Linked DNA regions of Homo sapiens: region 2 is linked to region 1. Evidence: promoter capture Hi-C in 16 types of primary human blood cells and fetal thymus (Javierre and others, 2016). All regions are on one chromosome and are shown on one strand. Each heading gives the region's core, a stretch centred on a gene start or on the middle of the fragment in contact. The rest is flanking DNA. Distances are from core to core; before and after follow the strand shown.

Region 1 (7,118 bases), core at 2,166-4,665:
ACAAAGATAACTACTATCAGTTTCTAGAAATAAAGTAATTAAAATTGTCTATCCCTCAATGTTTAGCCTAGAATAAAAATTTATAGTGATAATCCATCTCTGGCTAATATCAATACATCAGACCTATTAAAGATGTCAACTGCAATTCAAACACATGGAAGAAAAGCAACCACACTAGAGCAACTAGAATTTTTTGAGCACTTACTAAATGCCAGGCATTATGCTAAGCATTTCACAGATGTTATTTTATTTAATCCTCACAAGAATCCTGTGTGATAATTTATAGACAAAGAATGTGAGGCTTAGGAAATTCAAAAAGCCAATGTTACACAAAGTACAAATTGTACTAGACTATATTTGTATGTTCCAGAAGTTTATACTGCATAATTTCACTTAACTAAAGTCCCAGATTTGAAGGCATTTCTGAGTAAATACACATAGCAGACCTGAGATGGGGCCTTTAGGACTTAAAGTAATTAAAATACTACTAGCCTAAAGCTTTAGCTGATTGGGAACAAATAGATTAATACTATTCTCTGAAAAGCTATTTACTTCAGTCTAGAGTCTCATGCAAATAAATAGGAAGAGCAAGGAGCTTGGACCATTCCCAGGCAACTACTGCTGTCCCCTAAATGTTTGTCAAACAGTAGACAGGAACTCATGATTTTTTTTTTTTTTTTTTTTTTTTTGAGACGGAGTCTTGCTCTGTTGTCTAGGCTGGAGTGTAGTGGCGCCATCTTGGCTCACTGAAACCTTTGCCTCCTGGGTTCAAGCGATTCTCCTGCCTCAGCCTCCCGAGTAGCTGGGATTACAGGCTCCCACCACCACGCCCAGCTAGTTTTTTGTATTTTTACTAGAGACAGGGTTTCACCATGTTGGCCAGGCTGGTCTTGAACTCCTGACCTCAGCTGATCTCTCTGCCTCGGCCTCCCAAAGTGCTAGGATTACACGTGTGAACCACCAGGCCCAGCCCCATGAGTAGATCTTGATTAGCATTTTTTAAAAAGTAAAAACAATAGAAAAAGCATGACTCATATGCTGCAAAGTTAGGCATTGTTTTGTGAAACTTTTCTTTCGTATGTATGTGTAGAGATATAAAAATACATCTTAGGTTGAAATATAAATTTTGGGGGTTTTTTTGCTTTTTTTTTTTTGAAACAGAGTCTCGCACTGTCACCCAGGCTGGAGTACTGGAATATGAAAAATCACCACAGTGCCTCATACACATTAAGCATCAAATTAATAATTAGTATTATTTCTGTAACTGTGAGCCTGAAATACTATATCTTTGATAAAGCCAGTTTAACCTACTATAATGCAAACAACAAAAAAACCAAAAAAACCTTAAAGCCACACTGCTGACAAAACTTAAGAGTAGGTCCTTTGATTACTCGGGAAATCATATGGTCCTTGAGTCTTTTAACTAAGAAAATAAGTTTGTGCTGATTCACTTGCTCATTTGGCCTTCCTTTGTGAGTAGTTGTATTTTCATTCACACGTTGGCTGACAAAACTTAGAGACGTAATGAGTAACCACGAAATAGTGTATGATAGTGAATAAATCATGAGCTTTAATATTTAGCTCTACCACTTACTGATTGTGCAAGATACAAAACCTCTGTTTTCTCATCTGTAAAATGAGGTCAATATCAGTACCTTCCTCACTTGGCTTTTGGAAGGAATAAACAAGATCTAGTAGCACAGTCCCAGCATACAGCATTTTTTTTTTTTCTGTAAGACAGAGTCTTGCTCTGTCGCCCAGGCTGGAGTGCAGTGGCGCGATCTCGGCTCATCGCAAGCTCCGCCTCCCGGGTTCACGCCATTCTCCTGCCTCAGCCTGTAGTCAGCTGGGACTACAGGCGCCCGCCACCGCGCCTGGCTAATTTTTTTTGTATTTTTAGTACAGACGGGGTTTCACGGTGGTCTCGATCTCCTGACCTCGTGATCCACCTGCCTCGGCCTCCCAAAGTGCTGGGATTACAGGCGTGAGCCGCCGCGCCCGGCCGCATACAGCATCTTAAATGATGAGTGCCTACCAAACACAGCTAAGGCTTCCTGGTTACTGTGCTGTGCATTGCGGTGTTAAGAGCACACGATGGGGGCTGGGTTCATATTCCAGTCCGGTCACTTTGGTAATGTAGCACTGAGCAAATTTAAGTCTCAGTCTTTTTATCAATAAAATAATAATAGGATTACCCCTTAGAGTTGGTGGGAAATTAACATAACTAATAATCGATGTAAAGCCTTAGTACGGTGCTTGAGGTATAAGTGGTCAATATCAGCCATAACTTCATTGTTTATGTTTTCAATAAGTGCTGCTGCTCTAATTTTACACCCATAAACTGCCTTTACTAATCTTCCTTCTTTTATGCCCAAATGGAATACACAAAAGAAATGCACAAGTTCAGACTACAAGTAATACTCCAGTGTTCTTATCAGTGAGGCCCTCTCGGACTTGAAAATCAAGTAGCTACCAACGTCTCGGGTCCATTCCCTTCGCCCTGCTGTAGTTTCTCCATTACCGCTGTTTATTGACAGTATTCCCCGCCTGAATGTAAGCCCCACGGGGCGGAGACTGTTTCACTGCGGTATCCTTAGCATCCTGATTAGTGCTTGGCATGTAACAGATGCTTAGAGCATATTTGAGAAAAATCAATCAACTGAATGAGCCCCAGCCCGACCCTAAAATCGCCTCCTGCTTGCCTCCCAAGAAGGGAGCTGAAAGAGGCAAAGGGCGTTAGGGCGTCTCCCGTCCCCCAGCTCTTTCCCCCTTACGCACCAGAAGGGTCATTGAATCGTTTCAAGGGCGCCTTAGGAAAGGACATGTTGACGGCCAGCTCCAGAAACTGAAGGTGACTGGCACTCCTCGACAACTGAATGCGGATTATCACTCCCTACCGGTTTCAAATTCAAATCTCCCCACATTCCCCACCCACCCCGGCGTTAGCCAATTGGAAAGCCAAACCCCTGGGCACACCAATCCCGCACAGGAACACGAAGAAAGAATGCTGGGTTCTGATTGCGTCCAATTAGCTGGCCTGCGAGTTTAGGCTGCCATCCAATAGGAGACCGTTACTGTTCCCCGCCCCACCCACCCAGTCATTCCCGGAGTTACTCAAGTGTAACCTAGCATTTGCGCAAGCGCACTTCCCTCCGGAGACGTTAGAAAGTGCATTTTGGCGTCACTTAGGGGACGGTGTAGTGAGTTCCGGCTTCACTGGTTCCAATTCTGTCCCATTGTTCGTTGCATGTGAACTTTTCTGGATTTCAGTTCTTTCATCCGGGGCCTGCCGGTGCCGTAAACGGCCATTCAAAGGGAAAAACGAACACGCACACCAAAGCGCTAGCTTGCGTTCCTGCGCATGCGCAGTGACCCGAGCGGAGAGGCCGAGGCGTAGCCTAAGCGTGGGATTCCGCGCGTGCGCTCGGCTCCGCCTGGTGCGGCCGCGGCCGGGAGGGACTGGATTATGTCGGCCCCGTTTGAGGAGCGGAGTGGGGTGGTACCGTGCGGGACCCCGTGGGGCCAGTGGTACCAGACCTTGGAGGAGGTGTTCATTGAAGTTCAGGTGCCGCCAGGCACGCGCGCCCAGGATATCCAGTGCGGCCTCCAGAGCCGGCATGTGGCGCTGTCGGTGGGCGGCCGCGAGATCCTCAAGGTAGCGGCAGCTCGGGGCTTGTGTTCAGTTTCCTCTTCCCAGACGCCCCCAGCCCCGTTTCCCTGAACGACTGTTGGGTGTCCCGACGGCTCCTGTGGCTGGCAGAAAGAGAAAGAGGATAACACTGACCAGGTTTGGGTCTGGTCAGAGCCCCCGCCTCTTCAGGGCAGGTGCTGAGTTGTGGAAATTTGAGGAGCCTATTTTCGTGTTTAGTTTTCAAACTAAGACTGCTGCTTCTGCTTCTCTGACGGGCTTCAGCTGGGAACAGATTAACTAGGTTGCTAAAGGAACAAATATTTCTTCCGTGCACTGAAGACAGGCAGGAAGACAACAGATAACGTACCTGCAGTGGAGAGGTTAAGCTCCTGTACGGAAGCGTAATTCATAAATAGATAAATATAGGAAAGGACAACAAAGAAAATAGGGATAGAATAACGGGCAGAGAATTTAGAGATGATGTCAGGTGATTAGTTTTCTCATCTAAAAGCTTGAAAATCCTGCATGTTTGTGGAGTGGTCAAGCAGGTGGTGAAGAGGTGTGTGCATAAAATAAGTAGTACTCCTTTTATTTCTTTTCACCAATGCTCTTTGGATCTGGACCCGCTTTTTCTTTGTTAAGTGTATAATTAAACTAACAGGTTGAAATTAGATTTAGTTCTCAGGTTAGATGCCCAAGATGTTTGATGGCAGTGTAATATGGTGAAGGGAGACTACTTGTTTCCTAGTTTTGTAAACTTGGGCGAGAGATTGTTCAGTGTCTCTATATCTTCCTTATCCACAAGATAAGGTAGTTATAGTACCCTTCTCATGGGATTGTTTTGAGCTTAACATGGTATTCACGTGTATGAAGAGCTTGGAGTATTCACTGGTATGTAATAAGTTCATACTATATGTTAGCTATTAGCTATTATATATATTACAGTATATGGAGGTGCTTTGAGTGCCTCAAGATTCGTGTGAAAGACATTATGTCAGCTTGGATCTCAGTTACTTTTCTGAATTGTACAATTCATAGTTTCCTCAACAATGGTTTTAGATTACGATTATAAATTAGTAAATCCAGTAACTTTCGGAATTTAGCAGTAGCTGCTGAATTTGGGATTTCTGATGTACGTATAGACCAGTGGGATTTTTTTCTCACTAATTTTGACATATTTTAAAATGTGGGCTTTTCCTAGTGACATTTAATTTCACTTTCTATAACTTAAATTTGGCAACAAATTAAAATGGATTTGAGTTTAGGCATTCTCTCTTTAAAAAAAAATATATATTTATTGAGACAGGGTCCCTGTCTCCCATGCTGGGGTGCAGGGGTGAGATTGTAGCTCACAGCAGCCTCAAACCCATGGGGTCAAGCAATCCACGTTGGCCTCCAAAGTCCTGGGATTACAGGCCTGAGCTACTGGGCCTGGTGCAGTCTCTTTTAAATTTATATTTTGTTTATTTTTTTAAAAAACATGAGTTTGTGAACAGTTAGTCACAACTAATCTATCAAATCTGGAATACGTAAAGTTTTTTTAATGCCGATTGCCCAACAAAAAGATTAAAACGTTTTTAAAAGTTTACTTTAAAAACAACATTTTGCCGGGTGCGGTAGCTCATGCCTGTAATCCTGGCACTTTGGAAGGCCTAGGCGGGCGGATCACAAGGTCAGGAGTTCGAGACCAGCCTGGCTAACACGGGGAAACCCCATCTCTACTAAAAATACAAAAATTAGCCGGGCGTGGTGGCGGGCGCCTGTAGTCCTAGCTACTTGGGAGGTTGAGGCAGGAGAATCGCTTGAACCCTGGAGGTGGAGGTTGCAGTGAGCCAGATCGTGCCACTGCAGCCTGGGCGACAGAGCGAAACTCTGTCTCAAAAAAAAAAAAAAAAAAAAAAAAAAAGACAACATTTTTTAGTTTTAGCAGGAGATCCCTTCTTGTGGTTAATTTAAATTGGTAGAATTAAAGCATTTCAGATATTAATTTCACATTTGGCCAGTGGTCAGTATTACTGTATCTTCTAAAAATTAAGGAGCCCTGATCTTTCTTTAGAGAGCTCTGTGTTCTTTGCCATAGTAAATATCCCTTGCAGTGTAAACTAGTTTCCATTTTACCTGCTGGGAGAAAATTTAGGGTTGTGCACCTATAAATGTCATGGTGAAGTGGTGGTATAAGATGTGGATTAGGTAGGAAAGTAGGTAAATCTTAATCATGAAAACTTTATAAAAATTAAATTCTGTATTTTTAGCACCTTATATGTTTATTTTTCAGGGCAAACTCTTTGATTCTACAATAGCTGATGAGGGAACATGGACTTTGGGTAAGGGTAATTACTATAATTCATCAAATTAAAATAATTTTGTCTTGATATCTTTTCCTCTTTTGTATTAGGTCTTTTTTGTCTTTGCAGCTTTGAAAGATAAAGCAATAGAAATGTGTTGAAAACCGTTGTATGTCAAAGTTACCTAGTGGGGGGAGAAAAAATTAGTTAGTTGTTTTTGGAAATATAAAATTTAATGAAGAACTTCTTGAGACCACCCTGGCCAACATGGCAAAACCCCGTTTATACTAAAAATACAAAAGTTAGCCGGGCATGGTGGCGCATGCCTGTATTCCCAGCTAGTCGGGAGGCTGAGGCAGGAGAATCACTTGAACCCGGGGGGCGGAGGTTTCAGTGAGCCGAGATCAAGCCGCTGCACTCCAGCCTGGGTGAGAGTGATACTGTCTCAAAAAAAAAAAAAACAACTTGATGAAGAACTCTAATTTATTTGTGCGTGTGTGTGTGTGTGTTTTTTTTTTAGAGGACAGAAAAATGGTTCGTATTGTTCTTACAAAGACAAAGAGAGATGCAGCAAATTGTTGGACTTCTCTACTAGAATCTGAATATGCAGCGGATCCTTGGGTGCAAGACCAAATGCAGAGAAAGCTTACATTAGAGAGATTCCAAAAAGAAGTAAGTCAGATGAAGTGTATGAGTATGTGTAATTAAATATATAAAAATCATCAAATAAATATTTGAAATTAAAACTCAAATGTCATTATGAAAAGTTACAAACATTTTCTAGAAGAATTTTTAAAGTGAATTGTTAGAAAAATGGCCTTTCTTGTATGGATTTGATTTTTCGGAAGATTTTCTTGAGAGGAATTTATTTGTATTGCTGTGATTTGTGAGTTTAAGCTTACTTTTATGTACATCAGTAATGCATGAATAAACTCTTACTATAGTTGAATCAATATAGACTTACCTAGTGTAAAAAGTGAAAGGCCCCTTCACCACCATTCTCCCCATTCCATGCATCTATCTCATTTTCATCTCATATGTTGGCTATTGCTTGTTTTGTTTTGTTTTTTAGCATAAATGGAGGATCACACTGTGTGTATTGTTCTTCTTGTTGCTTTTTTATTTAATAATATGCTGTGGGTCTCTTTCCCTACTAATACATAGGTATAAAACTCATTCTTTTTAACTGCTTCAGAGGATTC
Region 2 (6,391 bases), core at 490-2,989, about 19 Mb after region 1:
CCATTCAATGTCCCCACTGACAGGTGTGGCTTTGACATTAAAGCAATAAGAATTTCCGTTTTTACAACAGTATTAAAAAATATTTTCCCTCTATCCCCCAGCCATGAAAGAAAGGGAAATAAAGATAAAAGCTGCTCTATTACCCATTTGGCAAAGTGAAGAATGGTGTACATTGAATGTCGCACATTAACGACAATCAGTGAGGCTCACCTTCAGCAGAGAATGAGAATGTTTTATGTGTGTTGTGGTGTGTGTGTGTCTGTGAGTGCCCATTCACTCATTCATTCAGTAAATGTTTGTTTAGTATGTTCCACATGCTAGGCATTGCCATAGGCAATGGGGATTCCACAATGAACACAAAAGAGCTGAAGCTCCTGCCTTCATAGAGCTCACATTCTAGACAATAAATGAATAAGCATATAGAATGTCAGATGATAATAAATATAGTGGAGAAAAATAAAATAGAATATTAATTACTATGTTACTGGGGAGGGGTATTAATAGCAAAGGGACAGAGGGGACAAGGAAAGAGGTAGGGGAAAAGTGTGTTCTTTAGTAGTTTAAGCTAAAAAAGGCTTTTTCCAGTCAGGTGAACTATAGTAAAGAAAGGAATTTTCATTCAACAATCAATCGTAATATTAATAGATATAATAATAGATACCAATTACTGAATCACTACTACATGACTGTCACTATGCTGAGCATTATTTCATTTATTCTTCACAATAAGCTTTGTTAGTGTGACACTTATAGGCACAAAGGAAAGTGAGGCATCGTAAGAAAGAGAGAGAACGGAAGGAGAGAGAAGCCAAGGTTCAGATAAGTCAAGTAGCTAGCCCAAGTGATCTTACGCAAATGTACAGAACGTGGATTTGAGTGCAGACACTCTGACTCCAAAGCCTGCACTCTTAACCCAGACACTGGGTTGAGGTACAGAGATAAATAAGTCATGGACTCTGCCTTGGAATTGCTCATAGTCTAGTAAGAGAGACAGACTCGTAAACAAATAAATCCAGTGCAGTGATAGGAGCTATAATAGAGGTATAATAGCGTTAAGGAGACACAGAGGAAAGAGTGACTAAGTGCCTGGCTGCGGGTGGGGTGAAGGGTTATCAAAATGCAGACATATTCATTTGTGCTTATGTAATTCATTGCTCTCGCTGGGTCTGGTTACTCACAACGAATCTGCAGTTCCCTCCAAAACCTTTTCCGGTGGATTTCCCCAGTCTGTCTTCACAGGTTGTGGGTTGTCAGCCTCATCCTGAATGCAATAAGTAGTTCTGACACAGAGGCCACATAAACTCTTTAAAGCCACTGTGGAGAAGGAAGGGAAATAACAATATAGCAGTCTACCTTAACTACCTTCATAAAAGGCTAAGGAATATGGCAACCATGTGAATTAAAATGAGATGACCAATATAAGGGAAAAGAGGAAAAATGCTGGCAAACCACCTGAAAAAACTAAAGGGCATGTGTATTGTGATACAAGGTGGCTGACAACAGTTACTCAGAAAGGAAAATTATATTCCGTGAAGGTCCTTATTACCTAGCACGATTTGCTTTAAGCCTCCATTCTTAACCTAGGTCTGCAAACGGGATTCACAAAATTCATGAATTCCCTGAAATTGTATGCAAAACTCTATGTACCTGCTCTACATTTTCTTTTTCTTTTTTCTTTTTTTTTTTTTTTGAGATGGAGTCTCACTCTGTCACCCCGGCTGAAGTGCAGTGGCGCAATCTAGGCTCACTGCAAGCTCCGCCTCCCAGGTTCACGCCATTCTCCTGCCTCAGCCTCCCGAGCAGCTGGGACTACAGGCGCCCGCCACCACACCCGGCTAATTTTGTTACTGTATTTTTAGTAGAGTCGGGGTTTCACCATGTTAGCCAGGATGGTCTCAATCTCCTGACCTCGTGATCCGCCCGCCTCGGCCTCCCAAAGTCCTGGGATTACAGGCGTGACCTGCTCTGCATTTTCTAGAGATCCCAAGAGTTCATCCAAATTTCAAAACAGTACATGTTCTCCAAGTAGGTTAAGAGCTGTGCGTTAAATACTTTCAGAACTGCTACTCCAGTAGATTTAAGTATAAAGAGCCTGGCATATCTTAGAGGGTCCAAAATGTCTAAGTGCATCCTTTGATATCATTGTTATTTATTGCCTTTATCAATGTGTTTGCAAATTACTGGTGCTACTTAGACACCCTACACATGAATATAAGGCCTTACCATGACAACAGGGCTTGCTTTTGATTATGTTGTGTATAGTTGATCTTTTATCTCTCTTTTGGAACTTCTTTGTAGAAAGATTCACTTTTCAAAGAAGCTGTTCACTCAGTATTGATTCTCAACTTTTTGTGGCAGGGGAGGGGAGGTGAGTATTTGATTAGGAATATTACAATGCCCCATTTGGTGTTTTCAAGCTGACCTCTCACCTGACTCTTTTCCACTCCAAACCCCTATTTCATAACTCAAGTTATTTATCTGTTGATACATTTCTCTTCATGTATATTTGGATCACCTTAGGCACAACAGCTTAAATTTTATTTTGGTTAGATGCCTCTTTATTACATTTGATTTATAGTCATTGAAAAAGTTTTGAGGATAGTGGAGAATCTTCCACCTTTTTACTGATGCTGCTCAATGACAAATTTGCCAGAGGTTGAAATGTCCTACCTACTAACCATCAGCCTAGCCACTTTTGGTTAAGCACCCTTTGTGGGTTAAAGAAAAGAGTTAGGATGAGAAAGCTTACCACCAGATGTATCATTCTAAACTCCATCAGGAAATGCATTCTTAAAACTAACTTTGACTATTTTCTCATGTACTTTCTCTTGACAGACATAAGAAAACAGATCTAGGATGAGAATGCGGCCTTAATGATTCCCTACTGCTAAATAACAGTAAATCTGGAAGAGGTACAAAGCTAATATCTATTAGCTTTTTGTAAGTACCAAAGGACAATACACATAGAAGGATCACATTAACAGAAAAATCCAGATGAAATGTAAGATATGGACAATTAATTACCAACCAAAACATTTGCCTAGACTCAACCCCATCAAAGAAGCCTTGCTGTTGTGATAAGAAGCAAGAAACCTATAATGATGGCAGATTATCAGAGCCTCTTGCCAACCCTGGTGAAAAACAACTCCAGATACATAATTTTTCAGTCTACTATGTCTAAGCTAGGCTCAGACAGAAGAGTGCTGTCTACTAGATTAACCACATCCACTTCCGGTGGGGCTGGAGACGTGGTTACTGAAGCAATGGCTTGTGCAAATATTTTTTGATGAAATCACAGCCTGAAGTAGAAGAGCTGCTGGCAAAAATAATCTAAACAAAGATCCTGGCTGGTTTCCAATAAATAGCCTTCTTTCCTCAAACATTTAACACAACCTAAGACATCTGGAACTTGTAGAATCATTTTTCCAGGCAAAAGCAAAAATTTTACAGAATATTTGATTAACAGCAAGACTCTGGGGTACACAAAGAAATCCAGAGATCAACTGCTAAAGAATAAATTTAATAAACAATTAAGCAATTAAGAAGTCTACCTACTGCCAGCCTCAAGTCATTAATGATTCAGTGAAAACAACTCATTTTCATATTTTCCTCTGTATATGCTTCATCAATAGAATTAAAATCTGAGGAAAAGGGGGAACCCAAGTGATATTTTGTTATAGCTAGAAGAATAAACAACATTTTTTCTCTCTTGCCCCCTGTGTGTATGTGTGTGTGTATATGTGTGTGTGTGTGTGTGTGTGAAATCAGCTCTTACCTTTGAAACTCTAAAATTTATTGACTCTGTTATTTTTTAATCCCTCCCTGTTAGAAATAGAAAGGCAGTGCTAGGAATGAATAGAAAATGAAGACTAAAATATTACCTGAAATTTGCATTCAATATGCATAGTAACAACTATTACAATAATGAGCCAGTACAATGCATTATGTCATTGGCAGGCAGAAAATTGTTATAAGTGGTTTGCAATATCTGTAGCTAATAATCTGGAAAAAAAAATGAGTCTAAGAAATAAATGAGATTTGTCAGATCTTTCAAATAAACATGTAAGAAGATTTGTGTTCTATGAACTATTTTTTATGTTTATGTATATATGGAATTTAGGAACTGAAAAGCCCTAAGGAGTTCTTTGACTATTTGAGGAGTGATTATTTGAATCATGTTTCTCTCCCCCAGTGACACTGTAAGCGCTGAGAGGGAAGGGATCATTATTATTTTTGTTCATTATTATATCCCATCCCCAGCACCTGGCACAGAACCTGACACATAATAGGTGTTGAATAAAGAGTTACTGAATGAATAGATGGATCAATACATCCCTATTCCAGTTTCTTTTTGTCTTCATTATTCAGCTGAGAAAACTGAGGCCAGAAAAGCTACACAGCTAATGTTACATTTCTAGTGGTTAAAAAAGTTAATAATCCTTTACCTTGATCAGTTTGGTAATATTAAAACTTTAACATACATAGAGTATATTGCCCTTGATGCTCTGTCTTTGGATTGGGCATGTGTTGAGGAGAAAATGTGGATACCTGGAAAACAGTTTGGCCTTGTTTAAACAAACTGGTTTTTTAAAGTCCTTCTGCTTTCTTTTAAGAGGTGAGAGAGCTTTGAGACAGACTTTTCAGCTATTTTTTAAAACTACAAATCTAGAATATTGTTAAAGCACATATAAATAAAATAAATGCAATGCTTATGATGATGAATAGTTCTGACTGGCAGCATGTACAATTTTTTATTTAAACTTTAAACCAATTCCCTTAGGCTCTGAACAGGGACAATAAGCCATTAGTTTTTTTTTTTTTCTTTTTTTTTTTAAAAAAAATGAGATCTAGCACAAACTTCGTAGAATATACTTCATATTTACATATTTCTTTCTTACATAACTGTAGACTTTAGATGCTAGTGTAAACTCTAATTGTTTTCTGGGTTGGCCATATGAGAGTCTCTGCTGTCTTTCCTGGTAGCAAACATCAAGCATAACTGATGAATTATTCTGTTTCTTTTGTGGGCCACAGTTTCCATATGTGACAAGTAAGCTACCTTATGATATGAATGATAGATTATAGAAGAGGCTCTGAAGACAGCCTGGTGTTCAAATGTTAGAATACAGAAGAGATTCTGAAGCTCACTTGGAGTTCAAATCTTGACTTCATCAACTGGGTCACCTAGGGCAAGTTATCATATTCCCTTCCAGGTACACCCAGAAACTTTTGCACCTCAGGTATCTTACCAGTAAAACAGGATGATAATAGCACTTGACTTAGAGAGTTCTTGTGAGGATTAATTGAGCCAATACATGTAAAATACTTAGGACAGCATTTATTATATAGTAAGTACTAAATTGATGTTACCTATTGTTATTATCTTTTTATTACTCAAATCATTCATGACAAGAAAGGGGTTTTTTTTTAATCTTAGTAATTTCACTCATGTATTTATTCCTAATGCAAAAAAGCTCCCTATCTCCCAAGAAAACAATAAAATGTAAATGGGTGTCTAGTAATACTGCATGAGAATTATCCCTCCCCTACTCCAGGTTTCTGTGCTTCAGGCTGTATTGCTGTCACCCTTGCTCCAGGTACAGGTGCATGACTTACTTGGGTAGACTGGTCACAGCATTTTATACTCCCTGCCACCATTTTTATTACAGCAATGGACATGAAGCTCAACCAGAGCCAAAAAAGATGTGATTTGGGAACATTTTCTGGGACCATTAAGATATATGATATTGTTTGAGCCACTGAATTCAAACAAATCTGAAGCTAGCTGTACCCTAGACTTGGCATCCACTGAGGCAATGAGTATCTTCCTACAATGCTATCAATTTGCATTTAATTTTCTGTTGTCTGAAATACAAACTTATACAGAAGAGGTGTCCAATAACAAAGATGTAGGTGATATTTTAAAAGACTGAGTAGGTGTCAGAGAGGCAAAATAATGTTGTGGTTAAGTGCATAGACTCTAAATCAACTTCCTAGGTACCCATCCTCACTCTACTGCTCAGCAGCCATTTGACTTTGGACAAGTCACTTACCTCTCTCTGCCTCTGTCTTCCTCTGCAAAATGAAGATAGTTAACAGTATCCATTTATAAGGAAGTTTTGAGGAGTAAATTAGTTAATATATGTAAGATATTTAGAACAGTGCCTGACACATAATAAGAGCAAGTTTTGGTTATTATTTTATATTTATTACTGAGATCTGAAATAATGGTGATGTAGTTTATCAAAAAGAACAAGGGAAATGGCTCTTACCATGTTGCTAACTAAAATTTTTCTGTAGACAGAGGAAGTAACTGATTAATTAAATGCACCTCTTTGTAGCAAAGGGCTTGAATAGACATTACTCCAAAGAATTTATACAAATGTCCAAC

The links. The method cuts DNA at HindIII sites, captures the fragments that hold promoters and counts their contacts. A CHiCAGO score of 5 or more calls a contact.
Region 2: a contact is called between a fragment that was not itself captured here and the fragment with the promoter of NUDCD2 in region 1, in 2 of 17 cell types (non-activated CD4 T cells and total CD4 T cells). The highest score is 7.2, in non-activated CD4 T cells.

What each region holds. Positions count from the first base shown.
Region 1 is chr5:163,456,399-163,463,516 of GRCh38, reverse strand. It overlaps NUDCD2 (NudC domain containing 2), which reads left to right and starts at 3,415. Exons shown (of 4, transcript NM_145266.6): 1 at 3,415-3,655; 2 at 5,907-5,955; 3 at 6,437-6,588. The coding sequence starts at 3,467. It overlaps HMMR (hyaluronan mediated motility receptor), which reads right to left and starts at 2,885. Exons shown (of 18, transcript NM_001142556.2): 1 at 2,779-2,885. The coding sequence starts at 2,824. It also overlaps a transcript of CCNG1 not described here. RefSeq lists enhancers at 2,639-2,698, 3,449-3,698 and a silencer at 3,029-3,118. The HindIII fragment of the contact is 3,644 bases long and covers 501-4,144 here.
Region 2 is chr5:144,184,795-144,191,185 of GRCh38, reverse strand. All of the region lies in intron 2 of KCTD16 (potassium channel tetramerization domain containing 16), which reads right to left. Among named protein-coding and RNA genes, the nearest start is that of KCTD16, 17 kb to the right of the region's middle. The HindIII fragment of the contact is 2,014 bases long and covers 733-2,746 here.